2 separate regions of the Homo sapiens genome follow, and region 2 is linked to region 1. The links are contacts of gene promoters, found by promoter capture Hi-C in human tissues and cell types (Jung and others, 2019). All regions are on one chromosome and are shown on one strand. Each heading gives the region's core, a stretch centred on a gene start or on the middle of the fragment in contact. The rest is flanking DNA. Distances are from core to core; before and after follow the strand shown. Region 1 holds the start of SPANXN1 (SPANX family member N1). Region 2 has its middle 240 kb from the start of SPANXN2.

Region 1 (3,520 bases), core at 583-3,082:
ATAGATGAACAGCATGGGCATGGCTATTATTATTAATTTGTGAGTAAGTGGTAGGGAGGAGGTCCAGGGAAGATTGTCTGGAAATAATGACATCTACGCTGCAGATGTATGGAGGAACAGACGTTATCCTGGTGATTGGGATGCAGTGTGGGAGAAGGGTATCCCAGGCAGAGGAGATAACTTGTGTAATGTCAGGGGTGGGTGAGTAAGAGAGGATGGTATGCTCGCAGGACTCCTTCCTGCTCTGACCTTTGCCCTGACACTTCATGTTCCTGGTTCTCCATCGCCTCTCCTGAGCATCATTTTCTCTCCCACTACTCATGCTAAGCACTGTGCAAAGTTCAGTTCCTGGCCCAGTGATATTCTCCTTTTACTACTTTTGAAAAATTTTAAAAATGCCATTACATAAAATATCATCCCTCCCAGGACCCCCGCGGTATGAAACTCCAGCTGAGTGGCAGTTCTTGCCTACAGCATTTACATTTGCACAGCCCAGCTTCAGCTCAACCCTGAGATGCCAAAATGACACCCTTCACCTTTCCTTCCAAATTGTTGTCTAGATTCTGTATTTTAAAAAATATTCTCATCATCAATAAGTGACCTGGTCCTAAAACCTGGAGTGATCTCTGACTTCTCCTGCTACCAAACACCTTGTCAGGAATCAGGGCCAAACAGTGTTATTGTATACATCCTCAATTGTTTATTTTTCTTGAAATTCTAAGCAACCTTCGTCTCTCCCCATTCTGTGAGCATCTCTCTCCAGCTCCAGTGACCAGTGGAGATTCTGTGTCAGGGCTCCAACCCCAGATTTCCCCTTCACATTGCCCTAGTAGAGGTTCTTCATGAGGGATCCAACCCTGCAGCATACTTCTGCCTGAACATCCAGGCATTTCCATACATCTTCTGAAATCTAGGCAGAGCCTCCCAAGCCCAAGCCTCAACTCTTACCCTCAGTGCATCTCCAGGCTTAACACCATGTGGAAGCCACCGAAGCTTGAAGCCACCAAGGCTTGAAGCTTGTACCCTCATGTTAGTCTTAGATTATAGTATCCTGCAGGTAAATACTCAGAACAACTTCCAGCACTTGAATATCCACTCCTTCCCCCACCCACATACTGGCAGAATTCATGTTGGGAGACTACATTTACTATGAACACACACCCCTGATTTGAAACAAGACTAGGATACATGGTAAAGAATGTTTATTCACTAAAGTTTTGACAGACTGAAGGCCATTATTTCAGATTGGAGATAGGAAACTTAAAAGAACTACATGGACATTGGGTAAAAGAACATGGGTTGAAATTTGCCTGGCAGTAGCCCAAAAGTAAATGGTCTTCGAGGTGCATGTGAAGGAACTGTAGGAGGGAAATGGGATAATTCACATCTCCACCAATAATTACATGTAGCCACACTAGCTTGGGGGATTTGAGGTGAGACATCTAAAATACTAAGTCATGGTGAGGGCTGGAAGACAAAAGAATGAATCACTTCATAGGAATGGCTGTGGGGAAGGGCTTGAAGGAATCATCCTCTGACTTCCATGTGAACCATGAACATTAAACATGGAGAAATGAGGAGCGGCGGCAGATCGGTTTGGGATGCATCTTCAGGGGATGCTGAAACAACAACAGCATTTGGTTTCCTCTACATCCCTGTCACCCCTCCCCCACAAGCCCAGGGATTGGTCAGCAGTGGTGCTTCGTGATGTCAAAGCCACCCTAGGACTGCCATTGGCTGGGACACTGCCTGTATGATCAAACAAAGCTCAAGGGTGTGGCTTTGCCTTGTCACCAGGAGGGTATATATAGGGAGGGCAAGAGCTCTGGGACATCCTCCTGGGAAGCTTCAATACAGCTGTGCAAGTCTGGAGTCTACAAGAGCCTACTATAGACATTCTACAACCAACCAGAATCATGGAACAGCCCACTTCAAGCATCAATGGGGAGAAGAGGAAGAGCCCCTGTGAATCCAACAATGAAAATGATGAGGTAAGATTGTTAGGTTTTGAAGGGAAGGTGAGGGTGAAAGAAAGACACACAGAGAAGGGACGGCTCAAACAGCAACACAGGAATATTGCAGACACCTGTGGAAGTGGGAGACCCGCTTAATGCCAGAGCCCACCGCCGCTTACAGCCTGGGGTGCTTGTAGGTAGGGGTGGGAGGGGCCTGGGCAGTATGGCTTGCTGCCCGGCAGGATATTGATAAGATGTTTTTATGATCAGGCTGTTTGGTCCTTTTTCCAGTGGGATGTCATTGTGGTGTTTCTTGGAACTTTGCCCAGCAAGATACCATAGGAAAGTTTCTTTAGTTGGACCTTTGTCCGTCTTGTGTTACGATGATTAGGCAAGATTTTTCTCAGCCTGAACCCCCGTGGAATGTTTCACTTTGATCAAGGTCTGAAAAATAGCAGGGTGCTTACTAAATGGTGGTTTGGACTCACATTCTTGCCTTCTACTTTAGTATAAAAGGAAGAGGGGCATTGTTGATTATCTGGCTGCTTCCTGCCGAATAGGGGAGCTGTAATCAGGGTTTGGGTTTTGAAGCAGTGGGTGTTGGACTTCAGAGTTGTTTTCCTGGAGGCACTGGTACCGGACTTGGCAGAGGAGAAGGATGGTATCAATGTGTTGCTGGGTGGCTGCCTGGACAGGGGAGTTTAGCCTTCGGGAGATAAAGCAGGATATGAAGGTGAGTATACATCGGCCAAATGTACTATCAGGAGGAGGAAGATTAACGGCCCTAAGAAAGGGACCACCTGCTATCCCAGTGCTGAGTGCATCAGAGATGCTTAGTTCTGCTAACACTAGAATGAGATGTACAGCCTGCTTAGTGTGTGTGGAGGAAGATGAGACAGAAGCTACTAAAGGAACCTGGATGGTCTGCTTGTTAGGCAAAATGTTAATGTTTAGATTAACAAAAAAGTTGTAGATTATGGCGGTTAACGAAAGTTGTAGGTTATGGTGGCAAGCCATGAGAAGGTGGGGGTTGAATTCTCCACAAACACTTTGTTTTAACTTTTATATTCCTCCAAGTTCAATAGCTGCCAGCAAGGGTAGCCCCACTGAAGGCCTGATAGGAAATGTTGGTGGTGGAGGAGGTGAAGGCTGCTTGGTTTTGGAGAGAGAGGGGGAAATGGGTTTTTGTAACTAATAGCCACTGTGGTCCTTACAGGGCAGAAGGATACAGGTTGCAGTTGAGGGAATTGTTTGTGCATGTTTTCCAGGGAGCGCCCTTGAGTTGGATACATGAAGAGTGGCTCTAGCCAAGAGGGGAGGCGTTGGTAAGAGGTATTTTATGGAATCAGAGTTGTAACATGTTTAGTTAAGAGGCTATGAGGTGAAGGAGGGTGACAGCCCTGTGTGTGATGGTGTGGGTGGATTTAATGGATTGGGGGGAAAGGTGATTAGCCGAGCAAGATTATAAACAGGATTTGGGAATGAATTGGTTAAGTAGGTGAGATGCAGGTTTATTTTCGACCAGGTTTATGTGGCCAGGTTGACAGGAAGGGATGTGAACTGCT
Region 2 (3,520 bases), core at 708-3,207, 1.3 Mb before region 1:
TATATGTAGCTTTTGACTTTGTGTATTGCTATTGATATGATTTGGGTGTCCCCACCCAAATCTCATCCTGAATTGTAATCCTCATAATCCCCATAACCTTCACATGTAAAGGGAAAGAACAGGTGGAGGTAATTGAATCATGGAGGTGGTTTCCACCATGTTGTTTTTGTGATAATGAGTGAGTTCTCATGATATCTGATGGTTTTATAATTGGTTCTCCTCCTGTTTGCTCGGCACTTCTCTTTCCTGCTGCCTTGTGAACAAGGTGCCTTTCTTCCCCGTTGCCTTCTGCCATGATTGTAAGTTTCCTTAGGCATTCCCCAGCCATGCTGAACTGTGAGTCAATTAAACCTCTTTTCTTTATAAATTACCCAGTCTCAGGTATGTCTTTTTCAGCAGTGTCATAATGGATTAATACAATAAATTGGTACTGAAGTAGTGAGGTGCTGCTGAAAAGATACCCAAAAATATGGAAGCAACTTTGGAACTGGGTAACAGACAGAGTTTGGAACAGTTTGGAGGGCTAAGAAGAAGACAGAAAAATGTGGAAAAGTTTGAAACTTCCTAGAGACTTGTTGAATGGGTTTGATGAAGATACTGATATTTATATGGACAATGAAGTCCAGGCTAAGGTTGGTTTAGTTAGAGATGAAGAACTTGTTGGGAACTGGAATAAAGGTGACTCTTGCTATCCTTTAGTAAAGAGACTGGAAGCTTTTTGTCCCCACCCTAGAGAACTGTGGAACTTTGAACTTGAGAGAGATGATTTAGGGTATATGGCAGAATAAATTTCTAAGCAGGAAAGCATTCAAGATGTGACTTGGGTGCTCTTAAAAGCATTCAGTTTTATATATTCACAAAGAGATGACTTGGAATGGGAACTTATGTTTAAAAGGGAAGCAGGGCATAAAAGTTTAGAAAACTTGCAGTCTGATGATGTGATATAAAAGAAAAACCCATTTTCTGAGGAGAAATTCAAACCAGCTGCAGAAATTTGCGTAAGTAACTAGCCAAATGTTAATCGCCAAGACAATGGAGAAAATGTCTCCAGGGCATGTCAGAGGTCTTCACGGCAGCCCCTTCCATAACAGGCCCAGAGGCCTAGGAGGAATAAATTGTTTCCTGGGCTGGGCCTAGGGCCTTTCTGCTTTGTGCAATTTAGAGATTTGGTGCCCTGCATCCCAGCCATGGCTAAAAGGGACCAACGTACAGCACAGGCTATTGCTTCAGTGGGTGCAAGCCCCAAGCCTTGGTGGCTTACATGTGGTGTTGGGCCTGTGAGTACACAGCAGTCAAGAACTGAGGTTTTGTAACTTCTGCCTAGATTTCAGGGGATGTATGGAAATGCCAGAATATCTAGGCAGAAGTTTGCTGCAGGGGTGAAGCCCTCATGGAGAACCTCTGCTAGGGCAATGCAGAAGAGAAATGTTGGGTTGGAGCCCCCACACAGAGTCCCCACTGGGGCACTGCCTAGTGGAGCTGTGAGAAGAGGGCCACCATTCTCCAGACCCCAGAATGGTATCAGTAGATCCACCGACAGCTTTTACCATGCACCTGGAAAAGCTGAAGACACTCAATGCCAGCCTATGAAAGCAGCTGGGAGGGGGGCTGTACCCTGCAAAGCCACAGGGTTGGAGCTTCCCAAGGGCATGGGAGCCCACCTTTTGCATCCGCAGAACCTTGATGTGGGACATGGAGTCAAAAAAGATCACTTTGAAGCTTTAAGGTTTGACTGCCCCACTGGATTTTGGACTTGCTTGGTGTCCATTTTTTGGACCAATTTCTTCCATTTGGAGTGGGTGTATCTACCCAATGCCTCTACCCCCATCGTATCCAGAAAATAACTAACTTGCTTTTGATTTTACAGGCTCATAGGTGGAAGGGACTTTCCTTATCCCAGATGAGACTTTGGATTTATACTTTTGGGTTAATGCTGGAATTAATTAAGACTTTGAGGGACTGTTGAGATGGCATAATTGGTTTTGAAATGTGTAAGGAACATGAGATTTGGGAGGGGCCTGGGGCCTGGCTGTGTCAGATTCCGGAATAATGAAAATAATAGACAAGTACCTTTCTGCATGATCTGAAGCTTTGGATTGATTTATGAAAGTATTTCTTAGACTTACGACGGGAATGATTTACCCGAGTAGTTTTTCCATTTTAATTCACCAAAGTCATATATTCTTGAGTTGTACTTAAGGAATCAAATTCTTCTGTGATTAAAAGATGCAACAACTTATAAGTTTACATAATTTTGCTAGAAACTCATGCATTTAAAAGCCTTCCATTTATTGAACTGTTTCTAGAAAGAAATTTAAATATATATTTCTATATACATATGCATACATACATAATAATATGCCCAATACTATGCTGTGTTTTACCTTACAGATATATAGATAGGTAGATAGATTCATTGAGATTGATTTTAAAAAATATGAAATATATAATTGCCTTAAAATTATTATGAGTCTAGTAGTTCAGTACCGGGCGTTACAATTTGAGTTATGCTAAACAAAGTGTAAGCCTTATATAAAGAAATCGAGTATCAGGGTCTGGATCTGTCTGGATCCTAACCCTATATTTTTCAGATTAGCAAAGTAACTTGCTTACCATTTCCCTAAAGTCTTTTTTCAGTTTATACATCTGGGGCTTGTATTGGTCACACCCTGGAGACTAGTTTAAGGTCTAGTAGACTACATTTCCCTAACCTGAAAATTTTCCCACTTTTATTAGTATGTGCCCATGTAAAAAATAAAAATTAAAAAAAAGATAAGAAGACAGAAAACTGAAACATAAATTTTAGTAAATCTCAGTACCAAAGATAACCATTTATTAAAATAATAATTCAGCCAGGTGCGATGGCTCATGCCTGTAATCCCAGCACTTTGGAAGGCTGAGGCGGGCAGATCACCTGAGGTCTGGTGTTCAAGACCAGCCTGACCAACATGGTGCTACCTTGTCTCTAATAAAAATACAAAATTAGCTGGGCGTGATGGCACATGCCTCTAATCCCAGCTACTTGGAGGCTGAGGCAGGAGAATCACTTGAACCCAGGAGGTGGAAGTTGCAGTGAACTGAGATCGCACCATTGCACTCCAGCCTGGGCAACAAGAGCGAAACTCCATCTCCAACATAATAATAATAATACTAGTGCATAAACATCCCAATATTTAACACACACATTCTATGTAAATGTATTCCATATATACTCATATATACATCAAGGAAAAACTTCAGCCCATATTCAGAGTTTTAGAGGATTTTGTTTTTAATTTTTAAGAATGATGTTGTGGTGAACACATTTGTAACTATGCCTCATCATGAATATTCTATTAAGTAATTAGTATCAATTCAAAACAAGTTAGTAAGTTAAAACTAACTATGTTTGAAATGCTATTGAGAGAAGTTAAACAGCTTCTTGCAGCAATGCATCTCACAATATTTGGAATGGCTCTTCAATAAAAAGAGCAACATACAACGAAAGCATTTGATCATGATGCAAAACTTTGGAGATGTT

The links. Contacts are between HindIII fragments. The study calls those that stand out against the background at their distance.
Region 2: a fragment that was not itself captured here is called in contact with the fragment with the promoter of SPANXN1 in region 1 in 1 of the 25 tissues and cell types used here (IMR-90 fibroblasts).

Annotation. Positions count from the first base shown.
Region 1 is chrX:145,245,671-145,249,190 of GRCh38, forward strand. It overlaps SPANXN1 (SPANX family member N1), which reads left to right and starts at 1,833. Exons shown (of 2, transcript NM_001009614.3): 1 at 1,833-1,991. The coding sequence starts at 1,917. The HindIII fragment of the contact is 8,684 bases long and covers 1-3,520 here.
Region 2 is chrX:143,954,010-143,957,529 of GRCh38, forward strand. No RefSeq gene overlaps it. Among named protein-coding and RNA genes, the nearest start is that of SPANXN2, 240 kb to the left of the region's middle. The HindIII fragment of the contact is 5,954 bases long and covers 1-3,520 here.